Linked DNA regions of Homo sapiens: region 1 is linked to region 2. The links are contacts of gene promoters, found by promoter capture Hi-C in blood cells and fetal thymus (Javierre and others, 2016). All regions are on one chromosome and are shown on one strand. Each heading gives the region's core, a stretch centred on a gene start or on the middle of the fragment in contact. The rest is flanking DNA. Distances are from core to core; before and after follow the strand shown. Region 1 overlaps ACKR3 (atypical chemokine receptor 3). Region 2 holds the start of DRC11 (dynein regulatory complex subunit 11).

The links. The method cuts DNA at HindIII sites, captures the fragments that hold promoters and counts their contacts. A CHiCAGO score of 5 or more calls a contact.
Region 1: a contact is called between a fragment that was not itself captured here and the fragment with the promoter of DRC11 in region 2, in 1 of 17 cell types (total B cells). The highest score is 5.4, in total B cells.

Annotation. Positions count from the first base shown.
Region 1 is chr2:236,571,343-236,574,570 of GRCh38, forward strand. All of the region lies in intron 1 of ACKR3 (atypical chemokine receptor 3), which reads left to right. Among named protein-coding and RNA genes, the nearest start is that of ACKR3, 3.1 kb to the left of the region's middle. The HindIII fragment of the contact is 7,885 bases long and covers 1-3,228 here.
Region 2 is chr2:236,506,084-236,508,975 of GRCh38, forward strand. DRC11 (dynein regulatory complex subunit 11) reads right to left here and starts at 1,393. Exons shown (of 19, transcript NM_024726.5): 1 at 1,174-1,393. The coding sequence starts at 1,184. RefSeq lists a silencer at 1,519-1,568. The HindIII fragment of the contact is 24,475 bases long and covers 1-2,892 here.

The DNA of each region.
Region 1 (3,228 bases), core at 1-2,500, 65 kb after region 2:
GGGAAAGCTGCCCAGGATGGGGGTGGGAAAGCGAAGGAAGATGGAGAAATGGCTGCAGTTTGCTGCCCATCAGCTTTTCTCTTTTAAGGGGCAGACATTGCAGACGTAGTTTTAAAAAAGTTCCATAAAGCATCGCCAAGGCAGCATGCCTGTGCGACACACGCAGGGCTTTGGGGGTGTGTTTTCCCCGTATTAACAGCAAGTCGTTGAAGCGTTGAGAAGGTATTATGATTTCTAATCAGGCCCAGAACAGGCCAAGTATAGGCTTTCTGAATGAAAAAAAAAAAAAAAAAAAAAAAACCCAAAACAAAAAACCCTGCTTAATCAGGAACAGTGGCTTTTTGTGTGATCATTTTAGGGCGAGAGCTCCTGTTTTCAAGTCGACGTGAGGGAAATTGGTTGAAGTCACTCAAACCTGAGGCTGAAGGGCAGTCACTTTATAAACCTTAAGAGTAACCGAGGGGAAAGAAAAAGACCTCAAAGATTGCAAAACTTTAGATTTTTTTTTTGTGATTTTGTAGAACATGAGGGGAATCTGGGGCCAGAAGGCATTTGTACCTTTAAACCAGGCAATCAAATAACTTAGTTTTATTATTAGAAGCAAGAATAGTATTAAAACGCCTTCAATTGGATTGCACGTGTGTAGGCATAATTCAGGAAGAAACTAAAGATCGTGTCATGTCAAGTGTTACTAAAGTTCAGGAAGGAAAAGACAAAGCTCCAGGACACGTATTTTCTGTTGAAATAAAAGAAAGCAAGCCAGAAATAGACAGATCAGGACAGGGAGGCGTGCAGGCGGTGGCCCTGATTTTGAATATTTGATGGTTTCCTTCAGGGAATGTTTGATGCTTTTATCGACTAATTTGGAATTGAAAAAAACAAAACAAAACACTATTGCTTCAATATTAAAGTGATCAGGGAATTGCATAATTTTATGGTGACAATTTTAAAGAGCCACAGGTAGTTTTGGAAGCAGACTGTGTTTTGTTCCAGGCACTGAAAAAGTGGATGGGGGCCGAGACTATCTCAGGTGGCCTTGAACCACTGTTGGCAAAGGGACAGATAACGAGCCCAGGGCAGTGTGGGGGACTTTGCGTTTTGAAGTCTGGGTCAGCCAGATAGTAAGCATCTTTTGCTTTTCCTGCTATAACAGATATGTGGCCATCCTCCCTCAGTTGTATATGCAGAGCCTAAGTTTGCACAGTGTCCTCCTGGGAACCCCATTGTGTCTGGCTTAGGGCGGGGGTGAGGAGGCTCTCCTAGCCTGGCTGACCTCCCACTGCCTCGTCCTAGTCCTAAGCTGGGTGGGAATCAGGGCTCTGGTTACACTGGGCCGGCCCAGACGGCAGCCTTTGTGACGTGGGAATCTCTGGACCTGCTCTTGTGGGTATAGCTTTGCTTCCCTGTCGGGCAGCTGAGCACAATAGACCAGATCAGGTTTCTGGACGTGGGATTTATTTGATCCCCCAAATCCTTAAAGTGGACGAGGGTGTCCCACGTGTTCATGTGAAGTATGTCTAAGGACCCTGGGAAGAGGTGGACTGTATCTGAATCAGGATATAGAGTTTTCTGTAGTTATTATTTTTTGCGTTCTCAAGTAATTCAAAGCAGTTATGTACTTGCATAAAATAAGATCACTCACGGTCACTAGTGAATGTGTAGTCAAGACTGTTTTCCATTTGCTGGCAGCAGAGGGGACAGACAGCTACCCATTCTGCTATCAGCCCTAGCAGATAGTCACAGAGAGTCTGCCTGGGCCAAAGCTCCCCTAGGTTACTTGGTTGGTTTCCCCATAGATTCGATGTAGCATTGGTTAAAAACACACAGACACACAGACACACACACATGCACACACACACACACCCCACTCAATGATGCGCAGTTGCCTAATGGTTCTTCAGAGGTAGTGTGGATTCTCCTGATCTAACTTGCAGGCTCAGCGTAAGCGGGGCTGGCCTGGTGGAAGAGGTGTTATCTGCTCAAGGAGACCAGAGCGTTTGCTTTTGTAGCATGATTCCCGCTGGAGAGTCCCTGGAGATGTTGGAAAGGGGAAGAGAACTCTGTTCTTAGCCACAAGCGCACCATAACCCAGTCTCTTCACCCGGCCTGGCCTCAGTTTCCAGGTGTGCAAACAGTGAGGGCCACTGTCCCAGCTCTTGTCTGGGACAATACCAAGTTTCTTCATGAAATTCCCTTGTAGGACACAGGTCTCACACTGCAGAAAGCCAGTGAAGGAGGCAGAAGTCCTGCAGGGCCCAGATGGCCAGAGGGTCCCCCTTTTCGGAGCTGGTCCCGGGGCCCCAGGCCTGGCCTGAGTTATCTTATCTATACCACTGTAGAGGAGTGATGTGTGTGTAGCAGCCTGGTCTGCACCCAGCTACCAGACCACCCCACTGCAAAGCTGCCTGTGGGGTTCGTATCACTTCCATTCTCAAAGCCTCCTCTGCTCCAAAGCCATGGCCTTGCTCTAGACTGTCCTGGCTCCTGCATGGACAAGCCCTGGTCATATTCCTTGCCCACCCTTTAAGGCCCAACTCTTACCTCCATTTGCTCTTCGTGGAGAGTCCTTGCCTCAGCCAGGCTGGGTGACTCTACCCATGGCTGTGCCTTCCTGGAACATCCTTGATCACCCCTACCTCCTTGAAGTCCCCCATAAGCCACCAGAGTAGAAACCCCTCATTTTCCTGCTGAAGGGGCATGCACCACCTTGCTCATGCCTGGGGGGTGATGGGCCTGCGTGCCTTCCCAATTAGCCGGCGGGGTCTCGGGGGTTGGGGGGAGATGTTTCTGATTTGTTGTCCTCACGTGCCCCAGAGCAGTGCCTCCTGGAACAAGAGGCTCAGTCCGTCAACACCAGCTCGGTGACGATTTCAGAAAAGTCTCTCCTGGACGCCCGTCTCCGCTGCTGGCCACAGTCGCTGGTCTTGGTGGGGCACGATTAACTGCTGGCTCATTGAGTACCTACTATGTGCAGCTGTAGCTGTATAGCTGTATAGCTGTAGCTACACAAAGTTACAGAAGACTTGGTGGGGGGTGCGGGGCCTGGTAGGAATGAGGTGGAGGGGCAAGAAACCTGAACAACGTGATGGTACAAAAGCCATTCCAGAATAGAGATGTGCAGTGTGGGGCCAGGAGAAGGTGGGAGAATCAGAAGGGCAGAGGGCATCAGTTGGGAAGAGTCTGTGGTTGGAGACTGCAAACATGTGGAAGGGAGTTTGGAGGGACACT
Region 2 (2,892 bases), core at 143-2,642:
CTACCCCAACTTGTCTCAGGAGCACTTGATGGAGGAGAAAGAAGTTACTTCTCCTGGAAACACTATTATTTCTTCCACTCGCTTCTTCCTCATGGATCATGTCTTTGATTCCTTTGCCAGGTCTCCTCTTCCCCCAGCCTTACTGTGGATGATCCCAGGATCAGTCCTTACACCTCTTTATTAATATTCATTCTATGTCTCACAAAGACCATCACAGGCTGACAGTGAGCAAGTTTATATTTCAGACATGGGTCTCGCTCCTGAACCCAAGATCTGAATATTTTAATTGCCTATTTCATCTCCACGTGATGTCCAATGGGCACTTCCAACTCAATACGTCTTAAACAGAACTCTTGATCTTCCCCATTTCCAAACCCTGGCAAGCCTTTAACCTCTCTGCTCTTATTTCCTTGCCTAGAATACAGGGCACGTAATAGCAACAGTGCAGGCTGGAGCTACAGTGCCCGGCTTGGCACTGTTCACTTGCTGTGTGAACTACTTCACCTCTTCATCCCCAAGTTCCCTCATCTGTAAAATGGAAATAACAATATTAACAGCCCCTACGTTACAGGGTTGCTGTGAAGCGGTTAGAACAGTGTCTACAGGGTCAGCGCTGTAATACCTGTTGGAAATTATTCTTACGAAGACCAAATGAGGTAACTTTGTGCAAGTGCTGTGTAAACGACACAGTGCTAGGCACACACTTCTTTCAGTACCAATGCCACTCGAGTCTGTGAAAAGCAAATGTCAATAATGCTTTCCCAAGATCTTTCTAGACTTAAATTTCAGGACCTAGGTGTTTCCACAAAGCACCGTATTTGTTACCGTGAAAGATTAACAAAAAAAGCAGACAAAATGGCATAGTGCTTCTCAGCAATAGCCCCTAAGGGCTTGGCAGGTATACGGAAGACTGGGAGCTCATCCCCATGGGGTGGTGGGACGCGTAGGGGAGGGGGAGATCTAAGTGTATGATTTTCCTTGCTCACAAGAAGCAGATACTCTATCCCGAGGCATATTTGAATTTCCTAAAAGGAAAAAAAGTGGGGGAGAGGAGGGAAGTTGAGAGGGGAGGAGAAAAGAAAAGAAAAAAGAAAATAAGAGAAGCAGAAAGCAAGCCACCTTCTGGCTTGGGGAAGCCCACTCCATGGCTGTGGCTGGGAGCCCATCACTTACGCGTTCGACATTGCTGGCTACTTTCCCTCTTTTCCTCGCCCTCCGGGAAGCTCTTCCGTTGCTCTCTGAAGGACGGTGGCAGCAGGGGTCAGGGCACTACCAGGAGCTACAGAGGATTTGGGTGGGGGGTCTTCTGGAGGGAGAAACCAGGACTGCGAGAATCTTCTGCTTCGGGCAGGAAAAGGTGAGGCCGGGTTTGCTTCGCAGGCACGGAGCGCGCAGGCGCAGAGAGGTGTTTCACTCCTTCCCGTCGCGACCCAGAGACTCGCGAACCTCACTTCGGCCACTCAGGTGGGCGCGACGCGGCCCTAGCAACGGAAACGCCGCGCCTGCGCATTGCCTTCCGCCTGCCCCCTCCCCCCCCCCGCCCCCCGCATTCCGCGCCTGCGCCACCGCGGGAGGCCTGGGTGGGCGCAGCTGTGGGAGCCGGTCGGAGTCCGAGCGCTCCGTCGCGGGGCCCGGCCGCTTGGCGAGCCTGCTCCGGGCCCCAGCACTTAGCCTGTGGTCCTCCAGGCCGTCTTCCCGCTTTCCTGCTGGCCCCATTTTCATCCACTGTCAGCTCTGCGGCCTTGGGCAAGGCCCTTAATGATGGTGGTCTTCAGTTTTCCCATCTGTAAACTGGGTATAACAGTCGTTCGTTCAGAACTTTACTGGGCATCTATTCTGGGCCAAGTGCAGACTTAGATTCTGGGCACCCAAGACTTAGGCAGACGCGCCCTTCGGAGACTTAATGAGTATGAACTAAGGCGCGGGTGCGTTGTAAATGTAAAATGCAGTGTGGATGCTATTAACAGTTATCCGTAAGTCGCTATGAGTGTTGGCTTTCATTGCTCTTCTTTCTTCGACTTTAGTAACTGTTGAGGTTTATTTGCACATTTTAGACCCTGCAGCTCCTATTGGAACGCCAGGTTTAATGCTGTCAAAGGCGTGGAGAGGACATCCAGGTAAAAATTATAATCAGGATCACAAAACCTCTCCCCCACCATTACTAATGAAATGCGCAAAAGCATAGTAAAAGCCAGCCCTCCGCACCGCCTTCAAATAATGGAGCAAATTATTTCTCAGACGAGAAATTGAGTACAACCTTGTACCGTAAACTTCAAAAACTCAGTGAAATAGCAGCTTGCCGTGGAGAATGGTGTCCAGCCTCATCTCCACCCTCCCAAAGCCCTTCAGGGGGCAGAGACCAAGTAGACACAACACCAAGAATTCTCATTAATGCTTTTTGATGCAAAGAATACACACACTGAAAAGAAGGGGTATGAAAGGGTGAGCCGAACGAGGAAACACCTGGGGAAATCCGGCCAGATAAAACCATCCTGAGTGGAGGTCAATCCCTACCGCTCCCAGGACCTGAGCAGGGACAGGAGAAATCTCCAGGGCTTGCCTTTTTCTAGGTCCCTACATTGAATTGAGGCAAAGATTCAAAGTCAAAGGGCATGTTGTCACAGGAATAGGGCACACTCGTGACAAGAGTGGGAGGATGGTGGTAAAGGAGCTTATCAAAATCTCAGAAGAGAGCACAGAGCCTGGAAGTTGTGTGGATTCAAGGGAGCAGTCCTTATCCTAAATGTGTACTCAGGTTCCAGAAAAGCAGAGAAAAGTGCAGTATCTCAGCTCTGGAACTCAGATACAGTGAGAAGACAGTCAAAGAGAATTCGCCCACATTATATTTGAACAAACAGAACATTTTCAAAGAGCAACACGTGTTAAATAGGA